2 separate regions of the Homo sapiens genome follow, and region 2 is linked to region 1. The links are contacts of gene promoters, found by promoter capture Hi-C in blood cells and fetal thymus (Javierre and others, 2016). All regions are on one chromosome and are shown on one strand. Each heading gives the region's core, a stretch centred on a gene start or on the middle of the fragment in contact. The rest is flanking DNA. Distances are from core to core; before and after follow the strand shown. Region 1 holds the start of HNRNPR (heterogeneous nuclear ribonucleoprotein R). Region 2 holds the start of CNR2 (cannabinoid receptor 2).

Region 1 (7,690 bases), core at 1,940-4,439:
AGCCCAGAGCGGTGGCCAGCGCTTGTAGTTCCTACAAGCCACTGGGGAAGCTGAGGTCAGAGGATCGCTTGAGCCCTGGAGGCAGAGGTTGCCGTGAGCCCAGATTGCACCATTGCACTCCAGCCTGGGTGATAAAGTGAGCACATGTTTAAAAAAAAAAAAAAAAATTAAAAAGTAAAAGCTGGGCTGGGTGCGGTGGCTCACGCCTGTAATCCCAGCACTTTGGGAGGCTGAGGCGGACGAATCACGAGGTCAGGAGATCGAGACCATCCTGGCTAACACGGTTAAACCCCGTCTCTACTAAAAATACAAAAAATTAGCTGGGCGTGGTGGCTGGCGCCTGTAGTCCCAGCTACTCGGGAGGCTGAGGCAGAAGAATGGCGTGAACCCGGGAGGCGGAGCTTGCAGTGAGCCGAGATTGCGCCACTGCACTCCAGCCTGGGCGACACAGCGAGACTCTGTCTCAAAAAAAAATAAAAAAATAAGCTGGGCGCGGTGGCTCATGCCTGTAATCCCAGCACTTTGGGAGGCCGAGGCGGGCGGATCATGAGGTCAGGAGATCAAGACCATCCTGGCTAACACGGTGAAAACCCCGTCTCAACTAAAAAAAAAAAAAAAAAAAAATTAGCTGGGCATGATGGCAGGCTATATAGTCCCAGCTACTCGAGAGGCTGAGGCGGGAGAATGGCATGAACCCGGGAGGCGGAGCTTGCAGTGAGCCGAGTTCGCGCCACTGCACTCCAGCCTGGGCGACAGAGCGAGACTCCATCTCAAAAAAAAAAAAATAAAAATAAAATAAATAAAAAATAAAAAAGTAAAACCTTACTATATCACGAATGTGTTTTAAAATATATTTCCTAATTGTATTTCAATATAAATGGTTTCTTTCGTATTGCTCTGTATTTTGTTTCATGCATTTAAAAACTGAGAAGAGATTCATAGCTTTTACCAGACTTCCAAATGGCACAAAATAGGTTAAGAATTATGGCGCTAGAGGCAGATTTATGTGAAGCTAGTAAAATTTAAGCTTCAGGCTGGGCGCCTGTAATCTCAGCACTTTGGGAGGCCGAAGCAGAAGGATCATTTGAGGCCAGGAATTCAAGACCGGCCAAGACCGGCCTGGGCAACATAGCGAGATTCCCTCCGCACCTCCCGTGTCTCTATTAAAAAAAAAAAGTTAAGCTTCGGGGTCCTCCCTCACTTTTACAATGCCCTTCCAAGACTCTGTTCCTAAATTTGTATTCGTCATTTAATATGATTTTTCTTAAAGACTCCCAACATTTCTTTCTTTCCTTCTTCCTTTCTTTTCCTTTTCTTTCCTTTTCTTCTCTCTCTCTGTCTTTCTCTCTTTCTTTCTAGAAGGAGTTTCACTCTTGTCGCCCAGGTTGGAGTGCAATGGCGCAATCCCGGCTACTGCAACCTCCGCCTCCCGGGTTCAAGCGATACTCCTGCCTCAGCCTCTCAAGTAGCTGGAATTACATGCACGCGCCACCACGCTCGGCTAATTTGTGTATTTTTAGTAGAGACGGGGTTTCACTATGTTGGCCAGGCTGGTCTCGAACTCCTGTGCTCAAGTGATCGTCCACTTCGGCCTCCCTAAGTGCTGGAATTACAGGCGTGAGCCACCGCGCCCGGCCTAAGACTCCCAGCATTTCTGTAAATCTCACACCCCATAACACAAAACTTGGATCTACCCAGAGATTTAACTTGGTACTGGGCACATAGTAGTCGTTTTCAATATTTCTTTTTCTTTTTTTTTTTTTTTAAGACGGAGTTTCGCTGTTGTTCCCTAGGGTGGAGTGCAGTGGTGCGATATTGGCTCACTGCAACCTCCGCCTCCCGGGTTCAAGCGATTTTTCTGCCTCAGCCTCCGGAGTAGGTGGGTTTACAGGCACGTGCCACCACACCGGGCTAATTTTTGTATTTTTAGTAGAGGCAGGGTTTCACCATGTTGATCAGGCTGGTCTCGAACTTCTGACCGATACACCCGCCTCGGCCTCCCAAAGTGCTGGGATTACAGGCATGAGCTACCACGCCCCGCCCGTTTTCAATAATTAAATATAGGTTTGTAGGTTCTGAGAAATTTAATCATCCTTGAGTGCATCTGGAAATCTGCAGACCACTGCTTGACTTCCTCCACTTCCTAAGGGTGGGGCATTGGAGTTTGGGGTTGGGAAAAAAGCGCTTGCACCACAGAAGTGAGTTCGGAAGGTTTCTATGAGACGAGACAGGTTTGGACTAAGGACAGGGAACAAATCAGTAGGAATGGCAGGTGAGAAATAGGTTTAGGACTAACACGAATTATAGTGTCCTTTGGGAATTACCCCTTTCCCCTGCATGGCTCTTTTGGCTTCAGAGATGTATATAGCTGCTTTATTTTATGAATATCAAGTAGCTCCAAACCCTGTGGGGAAAAGCTCCCTGCTCTATCACTTGTGTTACACATTGCTTTTGAGTCATTTTAACGATTTCCCTCACAGTCTGCCACCAACGATGTGTGGACGGCAGCCAGGGAGGGAAAGAGGCATTTCTCCGATCGTTCCAAGGAATGATTATCTAGACAAAATCCTCAGCAAAATGACGAGCCAAATCATCCTTAAATCGTGTGCTCACTAGAGGCGAAAAGATGACCGAAAGAGGCCCGAACGCGTGGCTATGGGCGTGTCTGGGGGGAACGCCGGCCGCGGGGGTGCGAGGGAGGACTCGGGGGCTAAGGGCGGCCGGTGGCGGGACGCAAGCGCCATGGCGGAGCTGGGCCAGTGCTGACCATAGGGGGCGGGGCTCCGGAGGCGGCCACGCGGCGCGAGGCCTAGATTTTCGGCCTCGCATCGGCGGCAGACGAAGAGGGAGGAGCTTCGTCCACCCAGGACCCAGCGCCCCCAAGCCTTGCAGCCACCAAGGGCTTCCACCACAGACCCCTTTGTGTGCCTGCCCCCGCCCCGGAGGCGCCCCAGCCAGGGGCGCTGAGCACCCTCATTGGTTCAGCCGGCAGCTTCATCGATTGGCTCTCGAGTCGTCCGGCGTGGTCCGTTTTGCCTGGATACTACTGGTCGTCTGAGCTGCCTGTCAGGCCGCCTCGCCAAGCGATTGCCCCGTAGCTCGGAGTCCCTGGAAGCAGTTCCGGGAAACCCCGCGTGCTGCCGGGATCGCGTCTCAGTCCATCAGGGGGGGGAGGGGGTGGCGCGCGCGCCATTTCTAGTCGTTTTCAAAGCGCCTCGCGCTGATTCTCACGGGCCCGGCTGCCGGCCCCCGCTCTGCCCTGGTGAGTCTCGCGCCGGCCCGTGGGGGGAGGGGCCGGGAGCCCCGATGCGACCCGACTCAGCCCGGGCTCCGTGCCTGGTCCCGTTTCGTTTGCGCTCCGAGGCCCCGGGGTGGGGGTGGGGACGGGCTGGGGGCGGCTTCGGTCTAGTCCGCCCGCGCGGCTGTGGGCCTAGCCCGGCCGAAACGCTTCTCGCCCTCGCTCTTCCTCCCCCCGCCCCTTTAGCCCGCGGTCCGGCCCGCTGGGCGCTCTCCGCGCGGCCTGCTGGGGCCGGCCGTGCTTTTCCCGCCTCCGCTCGCTGCTCCATGCGGCCGGATCCCGCGAAGGGCCTGAGGCGCCCGCGGCCCTGCCGCTTCTCCCCGCCGGAGCCGCTTCGCTCCCGCCGCGGCCGGCCTAGCCCGAGAGGGATGTGCTGATGATCCGGACGGGCCTGAGGGGATGGGGGTGGGGGGCGGAAGGCGGGGTGCAGATCCCAGGGTTATCTGAGCCGGGAGAAAAGTTTTGTGTGAGCAGAAACCGAAAGGCCGATTTGTGTGGGAAGCCTCCCTCCCCTCCCACATTCTGCATGCCGCGGGCTGAGATTTGAAGGAAAAAATGACTACTAGAGGCCGTAGAACTTAGGCTCCAAGCGGCGCCTGAAATGGATAATTCTGAGACTGTCAGAGGCGCACCAAATTGGAAAGGCGATCCTTTTTCTTACACGGTAGTGGCCGTATTGCCAAATTTTTAAAAAAGCCCAGGGCTTCTTGGAAGGTTCAGTCCTTTCACACTACCTGTTTGAGATTTTTGCAGTCCTCAAGTGGCTGAATTGATGTCTCATGAGTCAGTCGTAGGATGAGAGCTCGACACTCCTAAGCCATGAGATAACCGTTAGTCTCATTTCGTTGGTTCTTTTAAAGCCCGTCTCTTAATATGAAGAATTTGCACAGAGAGGTTCAGAAAAAGTCAGGGAGGAGTTAGTGCTGACATCCCGAATCTCCCAGCAGCCCTTTTAAATCTTTAAATGTCTCCTTTTTTTTTGCAAAAATGTTTAGATCAAATGACTCCAGTCACGTTAGTATATTTGCTGCATCCAGAAATATGGTTTGGCTGTGTGGCATTGTGTTGAATGCCACATTTGAATGAGTTTCAAATGGTCTCATATGACATAAAAAGTCTTTTCAAAATGAGCATTTTGTATTTGGCTTGAAGAGAGAGGGCTTTCCTTGATCCGAAGGTTTTATTTTCTGGAATCTAATTATTTTACGGTTTTTTTGTTAAAATTTACAAACTTTTTTTGAAAATTTTAACCAATTTCAGTATCAACTTGTAGAGCCTTTGCAATGAAATGGTAGGCATAAATATTTCTGTCTTGTACTTAATACACAACTTGTCTTTTTGCTTTACACATACTTAAAAACCCCACCTTAACAGATGTTCATTGAACTTTTCTGTTAAAAATTTGCCTCTTTTCTGTGACTGATAGTATTCCTAGGTACAATGCTGTAAGGGTCTTGTGATACTGAGAACTTTTGAGTTCTGATGATCTTAAGGTAGTATGTGGGGATGGGGGAGCATGGGAAAACAGAACCTTATGTTCGCAAGGAGATTTTGTGTTTTAGGATGCATCTTTATAGAAATAGGTCGTGTTAATCAGTAAACGTATTCATCTCACACAATACAGTTTCTTGATCAAAAGTGTGACATTTCGAATGTTTCCGTTTTTGCTAGTTCATCAGAATTTGAAGCTTGTCTTGAGAAACATCCACCCAGAATTTAACCACAGTCTGCGTCTATTAAGGGCTATCGAGTCTTAATAGTGTTTTGTAATTGTGAGGAGTCATGTTTATCTCATTTTCAGAGTAATCCTTTGCATTTTCTTCTTCTTCCTACTCTCTATTACCTCCTTCCCCTCTTGGTCTTCCTCCCTCTTTCGTTAACTTCAACTAAGTATCAGTGGACTTTGAAATGAAAAGAAGTTGTTTTAAGCCAGAAAACTGCACCTGGTGCATTTGCACAATGTTCGATAAGCTGTCGGGAAGTGTGGTTATCTTATGTGTCTTAGTACTTTGTAGGAGACTTGTATTTTCTTTATAGATGACTAGGTATCTTGAGTTTCATCAAGAAAAGTAGGCTTTTTCTTGAGATCCACCTTTATGTCTTTTATTTAGTATGTGTTGCAATGTCTTGTTCTGCTGCCTATTATCTTCATCACATTGTAATTTCACCACAGACAAATGCACTTTAATTCCCTGTCTTTTGAGGCAGTACACAGACTGGCCTTGTATGGTTTATTGTTTACTCTCTCTCTTCAGGGAGTCAGTCCATTTCAGCATTACCTACAGGCTGAATGTACAAAATTATTTTTGATAGGTTAATCTGAGAAATCTGGCTGAAGTTTAGCCTAATTAGGTAACGGTTTTTGAAATATTTGGAAGAAGTTGTCCATTCTTCAGTATGTTTTTACATCTTTATTTTACTGATATGAAAATTTCAACATGTACTCTTTTTTTTTAAGAAGCAACCTAAACTATAGCTCACTTAGTATTTTATTTGGACTGAAAACAATTGTTTCGCTTTTAAACTTGGTCATTTTTTCTTTTAAATCTGTGGGAATAGCGAATTAATCTTAGAACAAAAATTAATGTCAAGTTGGTTTTTTTTTGTTTTCGTTTTGTATTGTTAGGTGGAGAAAACCCAAACCACCAGCATGTTGAACTAGAGAAAACAGGGCACTTATTTCACACCGATACTGTATTTGAAGCAGAGCCAGGAAAATTTGAAAGTCCTTAAATCTTGATTAAGTGGTCTGTGGGTGTTCATTCTGTTTTTAAAACAAAACTTTTTAAAACTGTGTAAGACCCGAGAGCTGAGGGGCTTTTTAGTAAAGGATTTTGTAGTGATTTTGATCTTTTCACCAGGACAGAACAGCTGCTTTTGTTAATCAGCAATTCTACCTTCAGTAAATTAAAGCCTTTATCTTACCCGGTGTACATGAAGTTCCTTAAAGATCTAATGCTTCCATGTACATTTTCTATGGTTTTACAGGATTATTATTGCCAATTTAGGTCAGATACATCACAGGAGGAATAAATTATTATTTTGATAGAGGTTATTAGCAGCATGTATACAAATTAGTTTAGATAAATCATGCATTGTCCTACAAACTAGTTATTTCTGGCTTAATGTAATATAGCTCCTGAATTTTTTCCAGCAGCATAATAAAATGGCTAATCAGGTGAATGGTAATGCGGTACAGTTAAAAGAAGAGGAAGAACCAATGGATACTTCCAGTGTAACTCACACAGAACACTACAAGACACTGATAGAGGCAGGCCTCCCACAGAAGGTGGCAGAAAGACTTGATGAAATATTTCAGACAGGTATAATATGCATTTCTTGTTTCTGACTGGTTATGAAAGTGAGGGCAAACCACTTTGAATTTTATAGTTTTTTAAGGTTAAATAATACTTATTGTTTCTGATCTGTAGAGCTGAATGTTTGTTACTTTCCCTTCATTGAAGGCATATTGGGTTTGACTTTGATACTCTTATTTCATTATTTTGAAGCCTTCTTAGTGTTGAATATGCAGTCTTAGTTGTTTCAGAACAGCACATCGATTTGTCTTAGATTTACCACCCATAAAAATGTATGTTTCTGCATACCAAATTTTACATTTTTTTCTTAATCAAAATCAGTCATCATTTTGCTTTTGCTTTTCTACTTTTACCTTCTTAAAGTGATTGTTAAATCAGCTTAGGTCTGATTAGGTGGCATAACAAGAGGATAGCTGTATCGTCTGAAACCATAATAAATGTCAGACTCCTTGAGAGTTTGTGGCTTGTCTAGTTTCTAATAGAAATCCACATCTCTCCGTAATTTGGAAGTGTTTGGTTGTAACAGCTGCTTCTTTTTTTTTTTTTTAATCCAGAAGTGCCATGGTTAAGTGCTTAAGCAAATTTGAACATCTTAATATAGTTGGTTGTAAGTGGTTTGAAGTTTTAAAGAGGGAGAGAAATATTTACCCTTAGGGAGCGTTGTTCATAAATGAATGTGTCCTCCTCCTTTGGGGACATAGATGGAAACTTTCTTCCTCTGTGTTGTGTGTGCCTATTCAGATTCTGAGAGAGAATTGAATTGTCTCACTCACAAATGTGTCTTAAGTACAGTAGTAGCAAATAGCTGTTTTTTTTTTTTTGTCCTTAAAAAATTTTTAAATCTGGGAAGCTTAGCATAATTTTAGACATTAAAATGACTTATAAAAATGACTCCTGGGTCATGGTCGCATTTGAAAATCAGTCCTCAGGAACTTTCTGTGACATTCTGCCATAGAGAATTGGCAGTGATCTGCTTAGAGATGCTCTCTTGTAGAGTGTTTTGTTATTGATAAGAGGCTGATGGTTTGGGCGTAGACTTGGTTTGACAAAATGGATTGATGGGTGTCCTGAGTTG
Region 2 (7,690 bases), core at 1,486-3,985, 570 kb before region 1:
ACATAGCATTTTTTAAAGGTGTGACTTTGGGCTTTACATTCTAAAATTGGCAACTGGCTGAGCATGGTGGCTCATGCCTGTAATCCCAACACTTTTGGAGACTGAGGCGGGAGGATTTGCTTGAGCCCAGGAGTTCAAAACCAAGCTAGGCAACATAGTGAGACCCCCATCTATACAAAAAAATTAAAAAAAAAAAATAGCCAGGTGTGGTGGCACATGCCTGTTCTGCCGGCTACCTGGAAGGCTGAGATGGGAGGATCACTGGAACCCAGGAATTTGAGGCTGCAGTGAACTATGATCGTGCCGCTGTACTCCAGCCTGGGCAACAGAGCGAGACCCTGCCTCAAAAAATTAAAATAAAATAAAATAAAGTAAAATAAAATAAACAGGAAGTGGCTGGGCGTGGTGACTCACCCTGTAATCCTAGCACTTTAGGAGGCCAAGGTGGGTGGATCACTTGAGGTCAGGAGTTCAAGACCAGCATGGTCAACATGGCAAAACCCTGTCTCTACTAAAACTACAAATTAGCTGGAGGTGGTTGTGTGCACCTGTAGTCCCAGCTACTCAGGAGGCTGAGGCAGGAGAGTTGCTTGAACCCAGGAGGCAGAGGTTGCAGTGAACCGAGATTGCGCCATTGCACTCCAGCCTGGGCAATAGAGCGAGACTTGGTCTCAAAACAAAAACAAACAAACAAAAAACAAAACACACACACACACACACACACAGGAAGCTATCACATAAGTCAAGATTTCTGGTATCTCTTGAAAAATACAGCACAACTTCCAAATGCTTGGAATATCTGACAATTTGCCTATACTCCCAAGCAGAAAAGCTTGGCTGGAACTAAGAGGTACCTGCCCCTCTCTACTGGCCCAGATCAGGGTCTGGGGTGTGGGGCAGATACCTCTCAGCTGGGCCAGTAGAGAGGGTCAGGTACCTCTCAGCTCCAGCCAAGCTTTTCCACTTGGGTCCTGTGTTCCCCCTATTACCCACAGTCCCTACCACTCCCTATTGCCCCACACCAGGATCCATCACCCATTATGTTAATCTGCCTGTAGGCATTTGCATTTCAAAGCTCTGGCCTAGTGGTGAAGAGGCATTGGAATGGCATGTCCTTTTAGGTGATCTACTGTAATGTTGGTGCATTATCCCCATTTTACAGATAAAGAAACTTGCCTTTGGGGAAGTTAAGTGAATCAACATTTTAACGAGGCTGTATTAGAACCCAAGTCCCTTGACTCCAGGGTCTAGGCCCATGCCCCACCCTGGCCAGAGTTCGTTGTAAGAGATAACTCAACCGCAGGGGCAAGAGCATTGTGGCACCAGGGACCTGGAGGGGAAGTGGTAACAGGCACGGAAGGCCAGACCTCCTCACACTCACTCATCTGTGAGAAAGTACAAAAGCAAGAGAAAGCTGGCTTGGGGTGGCACTCAACAGGTGCTCTGAGTGGCACCCACGGCCAGGTCCTGGGAGAGGACAGAAAACAACTGGGACTCCTCAGCCCCCGGCAGCTCCCAGTGCCCAGCCACCCACAACACAACCGTGAGTAGCTTTTTTTGTTGTTTATTTTAGGCTTCTTCCTCATTCCCCAACACCTGTATTCTTTTTTGTTTGTTTGTTTGTTTTTGAGACGGAGTTTTGCTCTGTTGACCAGGCTAAAGTACAGTGGCACAATCTCGGCTCAGTGCAGCCTCACAGGTTCAAGCGATTCTCCTGCCTCAGCCTCCCGTGTAGTTGGGATTACAGGTGTGCACTACTGCGTCTGGCTAATTTTTGTATTTTTAGTAGAGACAGGGTTTCACCATGTTGGCCAGGCTGGTCTCGAACTCCCGACTTCAGGTGATCTGCCCACCTTGGCCTCCCAAAGTGCTGGGATTACAGGCATGAGCCACTGCACCTGGCCAAAACCTGTATTCTTACCTTATCCCTTCCCTCCAGGGACACAAGAAGCCAGGTGGGCCTGTCTGGGGCAGGGGATAGATGTCATTTCAGGACACCTGGGGTTGTGGAGGACCAGTCGCAGGAAAGTTCAGGGCTGGCATCCCCCTCCTAGGACCAAGAATCAGGACTTTGGCTTTCATTTCATTACAGAGACAAGAATCACACACACAGAGATGGCCTTACTGTGTGCCAGGCGCTGCCCTAAGAGCCTTTAGTGGTTGGATTTATTTAATCCTCACAACAGCCGTATGCAGTAGGAGCTATCACTGTTGTCCACTTGATAGGTGGGGGCTAGGTGACCCACCTGAAATCATGCGGGCATTGAATGAGAGCATTGGCTTGAGCCTAGGCACTCCGGCTTCGCGGCCCACCCTTCAGCCACCAGGCTATCCTGCCTTACGAGGTGTGGACTGCAACAGTAGATGGGGGCCAGGAAATGACAGGGGCTGGCAGAGGCCTTTGAGATGACCAGGTGAGTCCTGCGCTCTCATTTTATAGATGGGGAGACCACAAGGTAGTGTTAGGGGCACACTGGACTCAGGAGGCCAGGGGTCTGCTTTGGTGTAAGTTCCACTCAGCGGAGGGAAGAGCAGTATTTTCCAGTGTGCCCTGGGGTCAGCGTCCAGGTCTGAATCCCAGCTCTGCCACTGGTAGCTCGATGGCCTAATGCAAATCACTCCATTTCTTTCCTGCTCAGCTTCCTCTTCTGAGAAACATGGGCCTGAGAAGGTCACTCACAGGCTTGTTGCGAGTCAACTGTCTGATGCGGGCACAGGGCGGGCAGCAGCACAGGGCTCGGGAATGGCTGTGGTGGAGAGTTTGATCTTCACCCCATCTGCTCTTGCTGTGGATCTGAGATGAGGATAAAATGAGGCCTGGCTGCTTTTCCCTGGAATGAGTGGCAAGTAGACACGTTGGCAGCATGAAAACCAGGATGGAGGCTGGGGAGAAGTTCAGGGAGAGCTCAGGAGGTGGAGTCCCAATAATCCTGGCCCCAGCTCTGTAACCACCTTGTGGCTTACCAGAGTGACCCCCTAACCTGCGCTGGGCAGGTGAAGCATATCCTTTACCCTTTGGCCGGCTAAGGCCAGGATAAGGCAGTGAAGACGGGAAAATGGCAGCCTGGCTCAGCCAAGCAGAGCCCTCCAGCGCCAGCCCCCTCTCTTCCCACCTCATTTTACAGTACCAGTCACTCTTACTGCACACCCTCGGGTGTGCATAAATTGATCTTTTCTTTATTCAGTTGAAGTCACATTCAATAGGACCCTGAGCCTCATCCTACTGGGCTAGGAGGAAATTTAATCTCCAAGTGCACTGAGCTTCCCTCACTCCCATCCCCACCCATGCACATTGACCCAGAGGACACACAGAACATAAGCGTGAGGGAGGCTCCTGGGTCCTCCTACGATGGATGCCCATTGCCCAAATGGACTTGATTGTCTGAAGTCCAGCCTTGCCCACTTCCCTGGCATGCCTGGAGTCCAGATTCTTTGTAAGACCTGAAACCACTGTGTCTCATTTTGACATCCAGGATATATCACCCAGTGACTTCCCCCAGAGGTCCTGCCATCTTCCCAGAAAGCAAATTCTAGGTGCCCAAGACCTCGGTCCCCTCCCAGCCAAGGACAATCTCTCCTCTCCCCTTGGCTGTGGATGGCAGATGGACACTCTTCTCTCCCCACCCCCCACCCACGTGACCTAACCTTCTCACTGCGCTCAGGTTCTCAGGAAAGGACAGGAAGAAGGGTTGTCTTCAAATAGCTTCTGCTTCCTACTCTCACCCCTGAAAAAAGTCCCCGAGCCACGAGACACAAAGGGCACTCTGAAAAGAGACAGGCAGCCCTATCTTACAGATGAGAAAAACCAAGACTCAGCAGCAGTGTTGACTTGCTCAGTGTCACACAGCCAAGGAATAGCGGAGCCAGTGTGAGCAGAGAGTCCTGCGCTGTGGGTTCAGAGCTTGTGCTATCAATCACATGGAATCACATGGAAACCCAAGTCTCCCTCATCAATTACTCAGGCAACCTGGGGCAAGTTACATCACCTTTCTGAACCTCAGTTTCTTCAACTCTAAAAATGACGCTATCATAGCATTCCCAACCTGCCTCAAAGGGGCTCTTGTTTTTTGTTTTTTGTTTTTTTGTTTTGTTTTCTTTTCTTTTCTTTCTTTTTTTTTTTTTTTTTTTTTTTTTGAGACAGCGTTTTGCTCTTGTTGCCCAGGCTGGAGTATAATGGCGTAATCTCAGCTCATTGCAACCTCTGCCTCCTGGGTTCAAGCGATTCTCCTGCCTCAGCCTCCCAAGTAGCTGGGATGACAGGCATGCACCACCACGCCCGGCTAATTTTGTATTTTTAGTAGGGATGGGGTTTCTGCATGTTGGCCAGGCTGGTCTCGAGCTCCCGATCTCAGGTGATCCGCTCTTGTTTTTTTCTTAAGCGAAGATTGATGAAGCATTTACTACACATTTGAGCTCTGTGACCGTTCCTCATTAAGTCCTCACCACAGCCTAGGAGGGGGCTGCTATCACTAACCACATTTGCAAGGTGAGAAACTGAAGCTCACACAAGCTTAAGACTTATCCAAGGGGCCGGGCATGGTGGCTCATACCTGTAAGCTTGGCACTTTGGGAGGCCCAGGCAGGAGGATAGCTTGAGCTCAGCACTTCAAGACCAGTCTAGGAAACATAGTGAGACCCTATCTCTACAAAAAAAAAAAAAAAAAAATTAAAAATTAGCCAGGCATGGTGGCACATGCCTGTGGTCCCAGCTACTCAGGGGGCTGAGGTGGAAGGATTGTTTAAGCCTGGGAGATTGAGGCTGCAGTGAGCTATTATTGCCTGGGTAACTGAGCAAGATACTGTTTCAAAAAAAAAAAAAAGAAGGAGAGAGACTTGTCCACAGTCCCATAACTGGTGGTAATGGCAAAGCTGAGACTCAAGTCCAGGTCAATCTGGATCCAGAACCAAGCCATATTGTGGTGGGAATCAAAATAGGAGAACGGGAGTGGAAATGCCTCTAGGTATGGAGATGCAGGGCAGGCTCGGGGACTCATGATCAGGGTTGTCTTTACTGTGTCGCTCGCCAGGCTGCGTTTCAGATGCCATCACATGGACAACCCGAGAACCTGCGCTGGGGAGGAAATTGGAGGGATATCATATGAATATGGCCGGCTTCTCTCCTCCCACCCCAAACTGAGCAGTCCAATCCAGTCTTGTGAGGTGTCTACTCTGTGCCAAGACCCTGAGGCTCTAGCCCTTGGCCCAGGTGACTTCCTGTTTCCATGATGATCTCTGACAGACCTTCCCTGACTGTGCTTAGGCATTATCTTATGTAATCCTCACCTCGGTCCTGTAAAGGCAATTCTCTTTCTCTCCCCAAGCTATAAATGAGGACACTGAAGTCTCGGGAGAGGGCAGAGTGGGAACCCACGCACAGCCAAGGCTCTCGGTCCCCAGCTATGCTGCAGGGACCACCAGAAGAGTAAGATCAGGTCTCAGCCTTCTTCCAGCAGAACCCAGAACAGTGTAAAACTGTTCTCTTTTCCCTCCATCTCCTGGGGAGAGAAAGGATGTACTCAGTCCTCACGCCATGCAGCAAAGACCTCAAATGCCAAGGAGAGAAAATGACAGACAAGGCCAGATTAATGGGGGAGGAACTGCATAGTGGAGTTAGGGCCAAGCAGGGAGGGAAGGATTCCCCAGCAGGCGAGGGAGTGAAGGCTGCTGGGGCCCCATCCAGTCGGGGAGGATGTGGGTGAGCCCATGAGCAGAGGGGACTTCGTGGTTCGGTGTCCGGTGAGCTTCACGGCTTCTCCTCCCCTCCCCCACCTGCTTCCACTGCCCAGAGAGGAGGTCTCTGATCTCCTGCTCATACAGTGAGTCAAAGGCAGCTTTTCCCACTCCCTCACCCCCACCACCCCACCTGTCTCTCAGAGGCTCCCTTGCCTCCCTAGAGGTTGAGGCAACCCCTAAGTTCCTCTTTGAGAGCCACAGCTGCGTTCACAGTGTTGCCTCAGCCCAAATTCATTGAGTTCGTCCTCTGTGTCTCTCCCTGGGTCTGTTTGGGTCCTGGAAAATCTGATGGAGCTGGAAGCTGGGGAATAGAGCCCACTGAGAGCAAGGAAGGAGCCAGAGGGTGCTTCACTGACCTTCTGTAGCCCTCCCTCCCTTCCAATGGGCCCATTTGACAGATGAAGCCACTAAGGCTGAGACACAACAGGCAGAGACAGGAGTCAAACCCAAGTCTGTCTTCCCACTACTTTCTACCAGCTTTTCCCACTAGGGAGGGAGATGTTCCAGAAGGTTCACATCATTAGAAGGTCTTGATGCCTGTTTCCATTTTTTTAAAAATTAGTGAATAATTATTGTAATAGTTAAAAGATTTTTTCTCAATGTGAGATCTTCCTAGGATAAGTGGAAGAATCAAATCTGGCAGGTATAGCCAGGCATCGCTTGAGCCCAGGAATTCAAGGCTGCAGTGAGCCGAGATTGTGCTACTGCACTCTAGCCTGGGTGACAGAGCAAGATCCCTATCTCAAAAATAAAATAAATATTTAAAAAGCGATAGTTGGCCAGGCACGGTGGCTCATGCCTGTAATCCCAGCACTTTGGGAGGCCCAGGTGGGCAGATCATGAGGTCAGGATATCGAGACCATGCTGGCCAACATGGTGAAACCCCGTCTCTACTAAAAATACAAAAATTAGCCGGGCATAGTGGCATGTGCCTGTAATCCCAGCTACTCAGGAGGCTGAGGCAGGAGAATTGCTTGAACCAGAGAGCCGGAGGTTGCAGTGAGCCAAGATCACGCCACTGCAGCCTGGTAACAGAGGGAGACTCCATCTCAAAAAAAAAAAAAAAAAAAAAAAGCAGTAGTTAGTGGTGATAGAACAAACTAGCTCATGACTCACAACCAGGCAATTAATCATTCAGCTACAGCTTTGGCTGATATATGGCTTTACATCGTTTTTGCTCTTAATCTGATATCATTTAATTTATACCCTTACTGAGCCAATGATTAAAGACAGCATAAGAAACTGATATCAAAAATACAAGGAAGCTGGGTACGGTAGCTCACGCCTGTAATCTCAGAACTTTGGGAGGCTGAGGTGGGTGGATCACTTGAGGCCAGGAGTTTGAGACCAGCCTGGCCAACATGGTGAAACCTCATCTCTACTTAAAAAATACAAAAATTAGCCAGGTGTGGTGGCACACGCCTGTAATCCCAGCTACTTGGGAGTCTGAGGCTGGAGAACTGCTTGAACCCGGGCGGCAGAGGTTGCAGTGAGCCGAGATCACGCCACTGCACTTCAGCCCGGGCAACAAAGCAAGACTCCACCTCAAAAAAAAGAAAAGAAAATACAAGGAAATGATGGTGTTAACTCCTCTGCAGATTTGCTTCAAGATTCTTCTTTTTTCTCTTGTTTTTTTTTTTTTTTTTTGAGACAAGGTCTCCCTCTGTCACCAGGCTGGAGCATAGTGGCGCGATCTCGGCTCACTGCAACCTCCACGTCCCAACCTCCACCTCCCAGGTTCAAGCGATTATCCTGCCTCAGCCTCCCATGTAGCTGGGATTACAGGTGCATGCCACACGCCCGGCTAATTTTTTTGTATTTTTAGTAGAGATAGGGTTTCACCATGTTGGCCAGGCTGGTCCCGAATTCCTGACCTCAGGTGATCCGCCCACCTTGCTCTCCTAAAGTGCTGGGATTACAGGAGTGTGCCACCATGCCCGGCCTGCTTCAAGATTCA

What was found. The method cuts DNA at HindIII sites, captures the fragments that hold promoters and counts their contacts. A CHiCAGO score of 5 or more calls a contact.
Region 2: a contact is called between a fragment that was not itself captured here and the fragment with the promoter of HNRNPR in region 1, in 1 of 17 cell types (neutrophils). The highest score is 6.2, in neutrophils.

Annotation. Positions count from the first base shown.
Region 1 is chr1:23,339,783-23,347,472 of GRCh38, reverse strand. It overlaps HNRNPR (heterogeneous nuclear ribonucleoprotein R), which reads left to right and starts at 3,189. Exons shown (of 11, transcript NM_005826.5): 1 at 3,189-3,262; 2 at 6,456-6,621. The coding sequence starts at 6,465. RefSeq lists silencers at 2,647-2,766, 3,277-3,636, 3,647-3,716 and an enhancer at 2,672-3,256. The HindIII fragment of the contact is 3,804 bases long and covers 1,185-4,988 here.
Region 2 is chr1:23,907,099-23,914,788 of GRCh38, reverse strand. CNR2 (cannabinoid receptor 2) reads left to right here and starts at 1,427. Exons shown (of 2, transcript NM_001841.3): 1 at 1,427-1,543. RefSeq lists enhancers at 1,101-1,615, 2,389-2,558 and a silencer at 4,529-4,578. The HindIII fragment of the contact is 3,555 bases long and covers 958-4,512 here.